2 separate regions of the Homo sapiens genome follow, and region 1 is linked to region 2. Evidence: promoter capture Hi-C in 16 types of primary human blood cells and fetal thymus (Javierre and others, 2016). All regions are on one chromosome and are shown on one strand. Each heading gives the region's core, a stretch centred on a gene start or on the middle of the fragment in contact. The rest is flanking DNA. Distances are from core to core; before and after follow the strand shown.

Region 1 (6,813 bases), core at 2,819-5,318, 2.0 Mb before region 2:
TGTGTTTAAATCTAAAGGCAATTATTTTTCAACAAAAATACTTCATTAGGTGGAAGTGTATTCTTCCAGCAGGAGACAGATAATTCCTGATGGTTTCTCAGTTGTGATAAAGAAATAATTGATGATCACTTCTTAAATCTATTAGTTCACAGAGCTTGTGGAGTGATATTGTCATTTCTTTTTCATTTAGTAGTTGGAATGTTTCCATAAAAAATTTACTTCAGTTATTTTGTTATTTGCATCATAATTCATACAGGAAAGACAGTATAAATATTCCTGATTCTTTCCCTTTGTTTACCAGTTTTCAGAATAAGAGTTGGTTTCCTTCTGTCATTAAAAATGAACAGCGATACCTTTTTGGCTTGCATGTTTGGTTGATTGGTCGTGTCTGATATGATTACTTAAATGTATCTGTCCTTCATCCAATTACAGTTACCTTTATTTATGTTTTAAATCATCCTATCTTTGGCCAGTAGGAAGGTTTTCAAGGTGGATCCTGAGTCCTTTTGATATGACCCTAATAGCCTTTTGATTGCTTTGCTGCTTCCTGATGTAAGATGTTGCAGGCTTATCTTGTACATTTCCTGCTCCAGACCCAAGATCATCCATTGTTCTATGGAGTCAGTGTTTCTTTTAATGGGAAATGGTTGGTAGAGATCACAGTGTGAGCGCAAGGGGGTGCTTCTTCCTCCTGGGTAGCTTGTCTCTAGGCCTTTTCAATGGAGCACGTAGGAGAGATGTGTTTTTAAAGATTAACCATACTGTTAATCATACTGAGGCCTCCAACTGAAATTCAGAACTACAGGATGTTTATATAGCCTGATTAAGCTTTCATATTTCTATCTCATGTCAAAAATTTCAGCTTCAAAGGTACCATCATAATTACTTCAACTTGGTGTATCCCATAATACCAATATTGCCACCAACAATTTGGTTACGGAATGCAGTCTACAAAAGAGTTTTTTTGTACTTTAGTCCTGAGAATACATCCCACTAAGTATATACAAATTAAGTTTTAAAGTCACTTGGGATAGCTCCTCTGGGTGATATGCCACAATTGGAAAACATTTAGGTTCATTTAGTTTCATTTTACTTTCAAGGATTGCTTTTTAAAAACAGAATTTTGCTTTATAATGTAACATATTTACATGACTTCAAAGTCATGTCTTCACGCCAGGCGTGGTGGCTCACGCCTGTAATCCAAGCAGTTTGGGAGGCTGAGGTGGGCGGATCACTTGAGGTCAGGAGTTCGAGACCAGCCTGGCCAATACAGTGAAACCCCGTCTCTACTAAAAATATAAATATTTGTCAGGCATGGTGGCGCATGCCTGTAATCGCAGTTACTCAGGAGTCTGAGGGAGAAGAATTGCTTGAACCCAGGAGATGGAGGTTGCAGTGAGCCAAGATTGCACCATTGTACTCCAGCCTGGGCAAAAGAGTAAGACTCTGTCACACACACACACACACACATACACACACACACACACACACACACCAAAAAACAAAGTCATGTCTTCTTTGTTCCTTATACCCCTCCTCTTCCCTCCTTGCCCATATAGTCATTTTAAATGTTAATCTACTTGTAAAATAATAATTAGTAAATATATATGTGTATACACATGTATACACACATATTCCTCTTAGAAAAATGATATTTACATATTACATATCCTTTTCCCACTCAATATTCTGTAGTGTACAGAGATATTTCTCAATTCCTTTTTATGCATGCATAGTTTTACATTGTATGGATAAACCATAGTTTATTCAACCAGCCTTCTATTGGTAGACACTTGAGTTTTATGTCAGCTCAAAGAAAATTTAAATTCTAACATTGGTATTTTGGAGAGAAATTCTATTTGAGAATGGCTGTTACAGTAAGAGAGACTCAATCTCATGTTCAGGTTTATCATATCTGGTTTCCTGTAAGTCTGAATGACCATTCAATATGTAGGTGTTTAAAATAGCACCACATAGCCAGGCGTGGTGGCTCACAACTGTAAACCCAGCACTTTAGGAGGCCGAGGCTGGAAGATCACTTGAGGCCCGGAGTTGGAAACAAGTGCTGGGAACATAGCAAGAACCTGTTTCTACAAAAAAAATAAAATAAAATAGTACCATGCACATGTCATACTGATTTTAACCTTTTTGTATGTGACAAAAATAGGATGGTAGCAAGTAGGCTGAGGAAGCTTTTTTTTTTTTTTTTTATGAGACAGGGTCTCACTGTGGCCCAGGCTAGAGTGCAGTGTCTCAATCATGGCTCACTGCAGCCTCAACCTCACTGGGCTCAAGCGATCATCCTGAGTAGCTGGGACTACTGGCATGAGCCACAGTGCCTGGCTTGAGGAAGCATTTTAAAAAATTACTGTCATTAGTGTGGGATGGTGAAGTATGCAAAGTATAAAATAATAGAGCAGTAATTCTGTTATAGGAAAGGGGTCCCAATCCAGACCCCAAGAGAGGGTTCTTGGATCTCGAGCAAGAAAGAATTCAGGGCAAAGTGTAAGCAAGTTTGTTAAGAAAGTAAAGGAAAAAAAAAAAGAAAGTAAAGGAAGAAAAGAATGGCTACTCCATAGACAAAGCAGCCCTGAGTGCTGCTGGTTGCCCATTTTTATGGTTATTTCTTGATGATATGCTAAACAGGTGGATTATTCATGCCTCCCCTTTTAAGACCATATAGGGTAACTTCCTGACATTGCCATGGCATTCGTAAACTGTCATGGCGCTGATAGGAGTATAGTAGTAAGGACTACCAGAGGTCTCTTTCATGGCCATCTTGGTTTTGGTGGGATTTAGCCGGCTTATTTACTGCAACCTGTTTTATCAACAAGGTCTTTATGACCTGTATCTTGTGCCGACTTCCTATCTCATTCTGCGACTTAGAATGCTTTAACGGCCTGGGAATGCAGCCCAGTAGGTTTCAGCCTCATTTTACTCAGCTCCTATTTAAGATGGAGTTGCTCCGGTTCACATGCCTCTTGACAGTTCCCTTAGAGGCAAAATCTTTTCAATAAAAAGAATAAATTAATACTGTAAAGTGCTTTAAAACAATGTTTGGCACATGTTAAACACCACATGTTCTTGCTGTTATTATTTGAAAAAAATTCCAGGTAAGATTCCTAATTTAGCAGGTCACTAATGGAACTTGTAACAATTCTTAAACAACATTACTTTTAAAAATTACGTAAAAAGCATGTAAGCCTTTGGAAACAAACTTGTTTCCTTATGATCATATTATTTAACTTCTGGTGACTATATTCATTTGAGCATGTTTATTTTGAAGTCATCACCTTCATATAATCAGTTCAACTTTAGTCACTATTTAATGATCAACTCTACTGTGCTGTAGATGGAATACTAGGCCTGGGGGAGCTTAGAGGAAAAGACAGTGGGGGATGGGAGTTCAAATAATTATAAGCAGTAATAAAGTAAATTAACAAAACCATAAAAATTAAACTCCACAGAGTAGCATTTGAACTTGATGAGTTTACGGATAGGTAAAACTATACTGCTTTTAAAATGTGTGTGGACTCCAAAGTATCCTCACCATCACAAAGTGTATTCGGTGAACGATGTTCAGTCCCCAAATTTGGAAGTTAGGGCGGCAACTTCTGCTTGAAATAAGACAAAAGTAAAAATCCACCTCAGTGCAACGCAGAAGACACGAAGAGTCAGGTTTTCTACCCACCCCGTCCTAACATCCTCTGAGCGCTTTAACGCTCTCGCTCAAGGAGGCGCGGGCTGCTGCGATGGAGATGGGCGTCCGGCGCCGGCACGTGCCGTCGGTCTTTCCGGCCCTGGTGAGGGAGCTGGCGGACTCGCGCGAACGTTCGCGGGAGAACGCCAGGAAGGGCAGATGGTTCCTCGACTCTGAGCCCCTCCCTGCTGCGCTCGCCGGGTCGAGGCCGCTCGCCGGGCTGAAGCCGCTCCGAGCGTCGGGCCCCGCGCCCTGGCCCTCCTGGGTGTAGTCCCGGTCCTGCCTCTGCGGGGCCCGAGCCCGCCCACGGCGCCGGCTGGCCAAGGTGTCCCAGCTGCTCCTTGGCGCCCCCTGGCCCAGCTCCCGCGCCCGAGGTTTCCGGTGAGCGGCAGTAGCCGGTTATGACGACTCCCTCCTCTGGAACAGCCGCCGTCTCCTCCGCCTCCTCCTCGGTAGTTCACGGCTGCCCCGGCTCCAGGTGGGACTCCCCCGCAATCTGCGGAGCCTTCCCCCGCTCTCCTTCCCGCCGCCGCAGCGCTCTGCGCTGTTCTTGCCCGGGTGGTAGCCGCTCCCGGCGCGGCTTCCCGGAGGGCTATAGCCTACGCACGCACTCCGCCCGCGCCTTCCCATTCCCTGCGGGCCGGGAGGCGGGCGTCGGAAGCCGATCCTGGCCCTCCCCGGCCCCGGGCGCCCGGCCCCTTCCCAGCGCCCGGAGCGCAGGCGGGCCCCGGGCCCTAGCCGCGTTGACCAGGTTTCCAGCCGGGGCGGAGCCGCTCCCCGGGGCCCCTCCCAGGCGCGCTGGGGACCCGGGGCGCCGCGGTGCACGGTGGCGGGCGGCCCCGGGAGATCACCGACCCCGAAGCAATCCCTGGCGGCGCCCGGGGTCCGGAACCCCAGCGCGGCGTCTCAGCCGCGGCGGGGTGCTCGCCACTGACCCCTCAGCCCTTGGCCGGGACTGACGTTCAAGCGGACAGCTGGGCTCTGCCGGGACTGACGTTCAAGGGGCAGCCGAGCACTTCCTGAGCCCTGCCTGGCACCCGCCGAGAGACTTTTTGGCACAAGTAGGGGCCAGCCGTTGAGGTGTCATTCGGGGTCTCACGTGTTGAACTTTCCATTTGCCCACTGCCGTCTTTAAACTTTTCCAAGCTCTCTCTCTCTGCGACATTGCCCCATTTCGCCCGCTGTGTCAACCCCAGGTTTTGCCTCCTATCCATCATCTTTCAGATGTTTCCCTTTTTTCCTTCCTCATTAGGCCTGTGGAAATCGAATCAAGGGTTTCTGGAGTGGAGTGATTCCAGCTGCTTTGAGCTGAAGGAAAAGTAGCCTGGCCAGTAAAGCGTCCGTGTGCTGGAGGAGTGCAGCCACCCATCCCGGCGGGCCTTGCAGGACGACCGACACCAGGAAGGCTTTGTGCCAGGCCCAGCAGCCACCCCCAGCCGCCTTATGCAAGTGGGTACATGCCCTCGCCAGACGCCAGCTTTCTGATCTGCGTCTTTAGATTTTTTCCATCGCCTAAGCGTTACTTCTCCACTGATCGGTGAGTTTAGTGATGGCCAGAGCTCACTGGAGGACAATGGACTTGGATAACCAAAGGTCAGGGCTTGGTCATAACAATGACTTTATTACCGGGAAGGACGAGTCAAAAAATAGGAAGGCCTGGGAACCCTCAGGCTCGCCACTCTAGGTGGGTAGCCCTGTGATTCAGCCAGTGGGATTACTGCTGTGAGAATGGGAAAGTTGTTTGCTTCTGGGAATGTTTGATCCACTAAGTATCCTGTTGGCCAGTTCCAGTGGATGCCTGTAGAAAGTGGGCCACCTCCTCCCGTTCCCCATTGGAATCTGGTCCGAGTTGCTGTGTTGGGGGTGGTGCCTGTGAACTCGAGTATAGCAGTGTGGTATTCATTAAGGAAAAGAAAGCGCACCACCGGCCAGGCCTTCTGGCTGAGAGTTATCACGTTACATTATTTTCTTTCTTAATATTTCCTTTAATTCACAACATCATCTGAATGATCAGGTTTACTTTAGCATCCTTTTAAGGTAATATGTTTCATTTCTGACAGGTTTTAGAGACCTGAAACATCACAGAAGCTTCTGAGTGGTTCTGAAGATTCAAGAGGTATATATTTTTATTACAAGTAGAGTCATTGTTACTATTAATATGTGTTTTTAAATTTTTATAAAACTGCTGTCAACTCATTCTTGGATAAAAGCTCCAAGTGAAAATGTTATTGTAATTCAGATCAGATTTACAGCAGATAACACCATACTCTTGAGGGCCGCCAAAGTGAAAAACCACAATACTTAACTACTCCAAGGGGGGAAAATGGGGGAAAAAGGATTCCTTTTTGGTGTCCCCACTGTTCACTTAGAATTCCATGGCCTTGGAACTTGAGGTTTGATGGAACATAGCAGTCAATTTCCTTTTCTTCTTTCTTTCTTTGTTTTTTTTTTTTTTTGAGACAGAGTCTCCCTCGCATTACCCAGGCTGGAGTGCAGTGGCGAGATCACGACTCACTGCATCCTTGACTTCCCAGGCTAAAGTGATCCTCCCACTTCAGCTGGGACTACAGCTGATTTTTTGTATTCTTAGCAGAGACCGGGTTTCATCACGTTGCCCAAGCTGGTCTCGAACTCAGGGACTCAAGCAATCTGCCAGTCTTGGCCTCCCAAAGTGCTACTATTACAGGCCTGCAGTCTGTTTCTAAAGGTTCCATCTTCACAGCCCATAATCAATGAAGACTGATTTCGAAAGTTGGGTTTTCCGGTATGACCCAGGAAACAGCAGTCCTAGCTGATGAACATCCAGTGTGTATTAAGACTCTGTCATCCAGTGGAAAGAGCACTTAAAAAAAAAAAAAGAACAAAGATCCCACTAAAGTGACCTGAGAATGGCAGGATCATTGTCTGGGATATATAGGAGAAATCTGGTCCAAGAGATTTAACACTTACTGGGTGAATTAGAAATGCAGTGAGGTTTCTGACCATTATCACTGTTCACAATGTAAAGGCATGATGGGAGAGCTTAAGGGCACAGTCTTTGAGGCAGACTGCTTAGTGTCCTGGAGTTTCTAAGTCTTAGCTATTATAGCTGATTATTATACCTACTAGCATGT
Region 2 (6,797 bases), core at 1,519-4,018:
AAAATATTTAGAAAATATATTCCACGTTTTACTTAATATTATAGTGTTTGATTCACCAAATCATATAATTGTGCATATCCTTATGGAAGAGGAAAGAAAGGAGAAAAAGGATCTATTAAATCTCATTTCTAAAAAACTAGCCAATAGAAAATGTTCTGTCTATCCATGATAAGGATAATTTAAAATTATTACATTGTAATTTTCTATTTAGTTTTAGTAGCCTGGGAAAAAAAGTCTTAAAATGATTGATTTTTTTAACTTATATAATTTTAATTTGGTGCAAGAAATATGGATTATTAGGTACTCAAGAGTCAACATTCACTGAACTACATGTCAAATAATCCCATGGCCGTATAAATTATAAATAAAAGATACCTAAATATGATTAAGTATATAGGTTTTTAAAAGTGAGACTTTTTAGCTTATTTTTTAATTGTTAAAAAACATTATACATATAAAAGATGGCATAAGATATTTATGCATAACTGAAGAATCATTCAATCAAAAATATGTATTAGAAGCTTATTATAGGGGATTCCACATTTAGCACTGAAAATGTAAAGATCCTGGATGTTGTCATTCCTAACCTTGGAAGAAAAAGGTATTCAAACTGACAATCAATGACTTTTATTAGATCCATCAGAGAAATTAGGCTGCAGGGCAAATGTTACCCTGGATTAGAGGTGAATTCAGAGTCACAGTCCAGATCTGCTAACCTTGACCAGAAGTAACCAGAGCCGTAAACTGTAAGAACACTTAAATGGTCATTTTTGATGAATCGCTGAGGCTGAACATGGACTCCCATGAAAGTGGAAAACTCCTGGGAACTTCAGTCTTTTGGGGCCCCTACGCTTCTGTGGATTTTACCAACAGGCACTCTACCAGGTTCTCATGGCAAAGATCTGAGACAAACCTCCTAGTGGCTCTGACTAGGGGACAGGAAGAGTAATGATCATGAAATACACCCAGAACCTTTTCCATTTAAAAAGCATACTCTCCACGGAAAAACATTTTGGCAGAGTTCAACAAAAGCAGGGGGAAGAGCATTCCTCCCATCCCAAACCTCTCTAACCTTCTCTTCTCACCTAAAGGAAAAAGGATTTAATCAACATGGGTCAGGGCTTCAAAGAAATAAAATTGGGAATGGCACAGCCAGAAAGAGGATGGAGAGGGGAAAACCAAAAGCTGTACCACTAGAGAAACACCTGTGAAGATCACAGCCCCAAGACACAGGCCCACCAAACCACTGATATTTAATTAGAAGCTACTCACTTTACAAAGTTGAAGCAAAACACCCACTAACCTAGCATTCTAGATCCAGCAAAATTATCCTTGAAACATGAGAAATAAAGACTTTTTCAAACAAAAATCTGAAGGAATTCATGACCTGCAGATCTGTCTTGCAAGCAATGCCCAATAAAAGAAGTTATTTGGGCAGAAGAAAATTGAAACAGAACAGAAACTTAGATCTGCCTAAATAAATGAATACTGAAGGAATAAGTGAAGATGAAGTAAAATATCTTATTTTTTAAATATCAATTGATCTAAAAGTATGACTTTAATCATAACAATGTATTGCATGGTTATAGCATATGGATAACTAAAATGAATGACAGCAATGTCATGAGGGATCAGAGGGGAAAATTGGGAACTTTGTTCTAAGATACCTACACTACACACGAAGCAGTATAGTGTTATTTAAAGGTGGACTTAGATTAGTTTTGAAATGTATATTGTAAGTCTAATGCAACCACTGAAAAAAAAATTAAAGTATAATTGAAGTGCTAAGAGGAGATAAAATAGAATCCTATATAAAATGCTCAGTCAAAACCAGAGAAAGCAGGAAAATAGGTGAAAAAAAGAAACAAAGAAGAAGGGCAACAAATAGAAAACAATAACCAATATGTTAAATATTAACCCAACTATATCAGTACTCACTTTAAATGCAATGCTGGTCTAAACATACCAGTATTCTCACAATGGATATTAAAATAAGTCCCAACTGTAAGTTGTCTACAAGAAAGCCCTTTTAAGTATAAAGATTAGGATAGGTTAAAAGAGAAGGGATGGAGAAAGATAAATGAAGCAAACAGTAATTAAAAGAAAACTTGAGTGGCTATGTTAATTTCAAACAGAGAAGACTTCAGAAAAAAGATTATCAAGGATAAAGAGAAGCAATTACATAATTATGAAAGGGTATATTCCCCAAGAAGACATGATAAAAATATTTTGTACTAAGAAAATGAAAATACTAAATAAAATTTGTGGGATTCTACAAAAGAAATACTTAAAGGAAAATTTATAGCATTAAATGCATATATTAGGAAAAGAAGGCCAGTCACAGTGGCTCATGCCTATAATCCCAGCACTTTGGAAGACTGAGGCAGGCAGAACACTTGAGCCCAGGAGTTTGAGATCAGCTTGGGCAACATGGTGAAACCCCGTATTAACAAAAAAAAAAAAAAAAAAAAAAAAAAAAAATGAAAATTAGCTGGTCACAGTGGCGTGCGCCTGTAGTCCCAGCTACTCAGGAGGCTGAGGTGGGAGGATCTCTTGAGCCGTGGAGGTGACTGCAGTGAGCCAAGATTGCGTCACTGCACTCCAGCCTGGGCAGAGTAAGGCCCTGTCTCAAAAAAAAGAAAAGAAATAGAAAGATGAGTTATTAATACTTAAAGCAACCAGAAGAAAAAAAACTATAAAAATTAGAACAGAAATCAATGAAACCGAAAACACAAAACAATAGAGAAAATTCATTAGAACTAAACCTGGTTTTTTTTTTTTTTGAAAAGACCAATAAAATTGGTAATCCTTTAGGCTCCAAGACTTAACTGAAAATTCATTTCTTCCCACAAGCATTCATTGAGTGCCTACTATGTGCTAGGCATCAATCTAAAGTGCAACAGTGAATTAAAATAAATTCGTTGCCTTTGTGGAGTGTACATTTCAATGGGGGAAGACACATATGGAAAATAAAGCAGAAAAATAAAGCAGGAGGTATGATGGGGGTGGGGTTGGATGATCTTATTTTACAAAATGTGATCAGAGAAGGCCTCTCCAGTAAGGTGATGTTTTAATAAAAAAGAAAGTGAGTGAGTTGTCAAGATCTATCCAGCAAAAGAGACAGCAAGGGCAAAGTCGCTGTGGAGGTGCTCAGCAGGTTTGAGCAACAAGCAAGGTCAGTGTGGCTAAAATAGAGCAAGCCAAGTAAATGGCAACAAGTTTGAGAGGGGTGGATCATGTAAGTATGGAGTTTGGCTGTCATATGAAGGGAGATGGGAAGCCATTGGAAGGATCTGAGCAGAAGAGAAACATGATCTGACTTGTGTTTTAAGAGGATCACTCTGAGTACTGTGTGGAGAAAAGAATAGGTTATGAGGGGTCAAGGGTGATAGAAGGAAGACCAGTCAGTGGAAACTGCATTAAGTCAGATAAGATAAGCTGGCTTAGACTAGGGTGACAGTGGTGCAAATGGTATGTGGTCTGAGTCTGGATGTATTATGAAGGAAGAAGCAACGGGACTTTCTGATGAATTAAACATGAAATACGTAAGAGATTATATAGTGTGGGCATTTGTCCCCTCCAAATCTCATGTCGAAATGTGATCCCCAGTGTTGGAAGAAGTGGGGCCTAGTGGAAGGTATTTGGATCATGGGGGTGGATTCTTCATCAATGGCTTGGTGCCCTCCCTATGGTAATGAGCGCATGTGAGATCCCATTGTTAAAGAGACAGGAACCTCCCCCAACTTTCTCTGGCTCCCTCTCTTTCCTGCTCCCGCTTCACCCTCTGCCATGAGCTAAAGCCTCCTGAGGCCTCAATCTCAGGTATTCCTTTACGGTAATGCAAAGTGGACCAACACAAAAGAGTCAAACATAACAAGATTTTAGGCCAGAACAAACAGAACAAAGAATTTACCAATATAAGTGAACTAACTTGCTTTAGAATTTAAAAAGTATTATATACATAAAGTAGTTCATTTTTTACCAGAGGACAGGTATTCAATAGATTAAAATCTCATTCCATTCTATCATGACATAAGGTATTTCATGATTTTTTACCAGATTTTAATTCTGCAACACTCACTAGTCAGATATCACTTTGCAACACTGGAAGTTTTCAATCAGAAAAGGTTTTATTATAAGAAACAATGACATCAGGTAAAAATGCAAAAAATTGTGCAATTATGGCAAAATGTTTAAAAATATCTACACATTTGCCCCCACAGGACTACAGTACTTACTACATACCTGAGCACTGAACATTGAATTCCATTTTAAACTGCTTTACATAGGGAATCTGATTCCTTCATGATCACATCCATTTGTTCTCATGACCAATAAAATCAGCTTGATGCTTAAGCATCAACTTTGTAGAACAGAAAACAAAGATGGAAAATAAAGAATACAATTTCTACTTTCCTATAACATAGTTATACCCAGTCCAGTTTTCAATGTGTGACAAATATATAGGAAAGTGCTACATACATTCTTCAAATGCAAAAACAAAGTTAAAGTGGAACTGGCATTATGTTAGACCTACATTTTAATTCTGTAGTACCCATTGTGCCTTTTACTTAAGGTCTTACCACACTATGAAAATGCACCTTAAATATCTAAATATAAACCCACACATGTCACTAATCTTACTTTTCTAGGACCTCTTCTGAATCCATTTTAACAGTGGCAAAATATCCCAGCTATATAATTTAAACAAATAGTTCTTCATACAAAATTCAATATATATTCTACTCCCATAACAAATCCTAAGCCTTGCTTTTGACACACTTAACTTAGATCGTACCCTCCATACAAATTGTCATAGCCAAAAGATCAACTGTTGTGCAGGCTAAAAGAATAAATCTACTGTTGAATTAGCCACAGTATGTCATTCTCTTATATAACATACAGCCCATGTAAATTGCTAACTCAATGTTCTATGTCATGTTTTCAAGTAATACATTTTTCTAAATACACAAGATTGTCAAAAAGCGGCAGGAAATCTTATTCAACAAAGCTTTCAAAAATAAATTACATGAACATCTCTTGCAAAAAAATTGTTTTTTCTCTCTCCTCAGCAATGCAAAACTGTAAAGAATGATTTCTAAAATACACAGTAATAACTCCAAAACATCATGATGATAAAAACAAAAACAAAACAGAAGATAAAACTGGGGAGGTAAAAATGTTGACAAAGTTTATACAGAGATTACAGACATACTATCAACACCAATAAGAAGAAACCACATATCTAGCTAAGACTAGATTTTAAAATGTTAATTCTAGAAATGCTGTCCATTTTAACTTCTGCTTCAGAAAACATTCCCTACTTGTAGAGGTCTATGTAAAGCAGTTTGGAAAGTTTCTGAAAAACGAGGTATGTGATGCAAAGAGGCAATGTTTTCAATTTGTTTCACAGTATCACATTACAATTTGTGCAAGATTTTTAAAATACGAACCATGCCAGTTTGCTTTCAAGTGAATACAAATATTGTGATTGAGGGCAAAATCTGTCCTATGCTTATACCCTTTACGAATTACTCTAGGCTTAGTAAAACATGTTACTGATCCAAATGCCTGCCTTAGGTATACAAATAAGTTGGTTTATCCTTCATGTTAATATTCCTAACTGATGATTGTTAGAAATTTCATCAGTTAAATGCAAAAAATGCTTTAGTACCTAGAAAGCTATGGTTCTGTTCACTCACTCTTTTCCTTTTCAATCACCTTCAGCTAGAAGGAGGATTCCAACGTAAAAGTATTCATCACTGTTAAGTGCAAAAATGGAAAAAAAAAATGAGGTTTTAATTGTAATATGAAACTTAAAGACATTAAATTAGACCACTGCAGGAATTTTGTTTCTGGAAAGCAGAATTTTAAAAGTAGGTATAAAACTTCACATTATGCTCTGTGCAGAAGAGAAATAAGTTACCTTTCCTTGTACCAATAATGAATGGACAGGTAGATGGAAGAGAAGGTTGGGCTACAAATGGCCCATGTTAGTGCAAACTGGGTATAATGTTCCTACTATTCTAAGATTGAGTCCAGTTAGATGAATAACTGGCCATACCCTCCTATCACATAAGTAGAGAATCTTGTGAAATCACAAGAGTTCAACAGGTAAAGTACTATGGCCATGAAATCCACACCAATTTGAAAGATAGGCATAGGCTCAGACCATTTAAATCCATCTAGTTATACACATGAATTAAGTTAGACTAGCACCAGCCACCTGTGAATATGAGCACTTTTCCAGATTTTCACAAAAGAGACAGTGTTAGCACTTGAAAAAGTCATCGACAGAAAACTGCCACTTTAAAACTTTAGCTTAACTTAAAATTACATGGGAAATGGAAACAATCAGACTAAAAGCTCTTTCTGAGACTAATTTTTTCTTCGATCTACTCTAATAATAGAACACATTTAAATCTCAGTACACTTGAAAACAGTACACAAAAATAGATACATATAAATATTAAGAATGAGGATCTAAGTTAGTGCTTCTCTGTGTTAGAGAGGTCACAGCTAAAGTCCTAGTGATATTGCCTCAGATTGTTACCCGTATTTAAAATTAAAAGTCACATCAAACAAGTTTAGACGTCTTTACCCAATAATACCCTAAATGCTCTTATAAGAGTGCATAGTTGTCCTGATTCATCTGGTACCTCAGTTACTATTTATCACAAAATTATAAAATGAAATGATTAATTTTATGCCAGGAAAAAAAAATGCTGATAATTGCACTTTGTTATCTTTTCCTTACTGAAATGAAATGTCACAAGGATGAAGGAAAATCCCTCCCT

Evidence for each region. The method cuts DNA at HindIII sites, captures the fragments that hold promoters and counts their contacts. A CHiCAGO score of 5 or more calls a contact.
Region 1: the fragment with the promoter of EOGT here is called in contact with a fragment that was not itself captured in region 2 in 1 of 17 cell types (erythroblasts); the score reaches 6.1 in erythroblasts.

The regions. Positions count from the first base shown.
Region 1 is chr3:69,010,939-69,017,751 of GRCh38, reverse strand. EOGT (EGF domain specific O-linked N-acetylglucosamine transferase) reads left to right here and starts at 4,068. Exons shown (of 18, transcript NM_001278689.2): 1 at 4,068-4,178; 2 at 4,953-5,237; 3 at 5,761-5,816. EOGT-DT (EOGT divergent transcript) reads right to left here and starts at 4,632. Exons shown (of 1, transcript NR_185971.1): 1 at 1-4,632. RefSeq lists silencers at 3,841-4,140, 4,201-4,750. The HindIII fragment of the contact is 3,596 bases long and covers 2,195-5,790 here.
Region 2 is chr3:67,008,525-67,015,321 of GRCh38, reverse strand. KBTBD8 (kelch repeat and BTB domain containing 8) reads right to left here. Exons shown (of 4, transcript NM_032505.3): 4 at 4,112-6,797. Among named protein-coding and RNA genes, the nearest start is that of KBTBD8, 14 kb to the right of the region's middle. The HindIII fragment of the contact is 4,490 bases long and covers 524-5,013 here.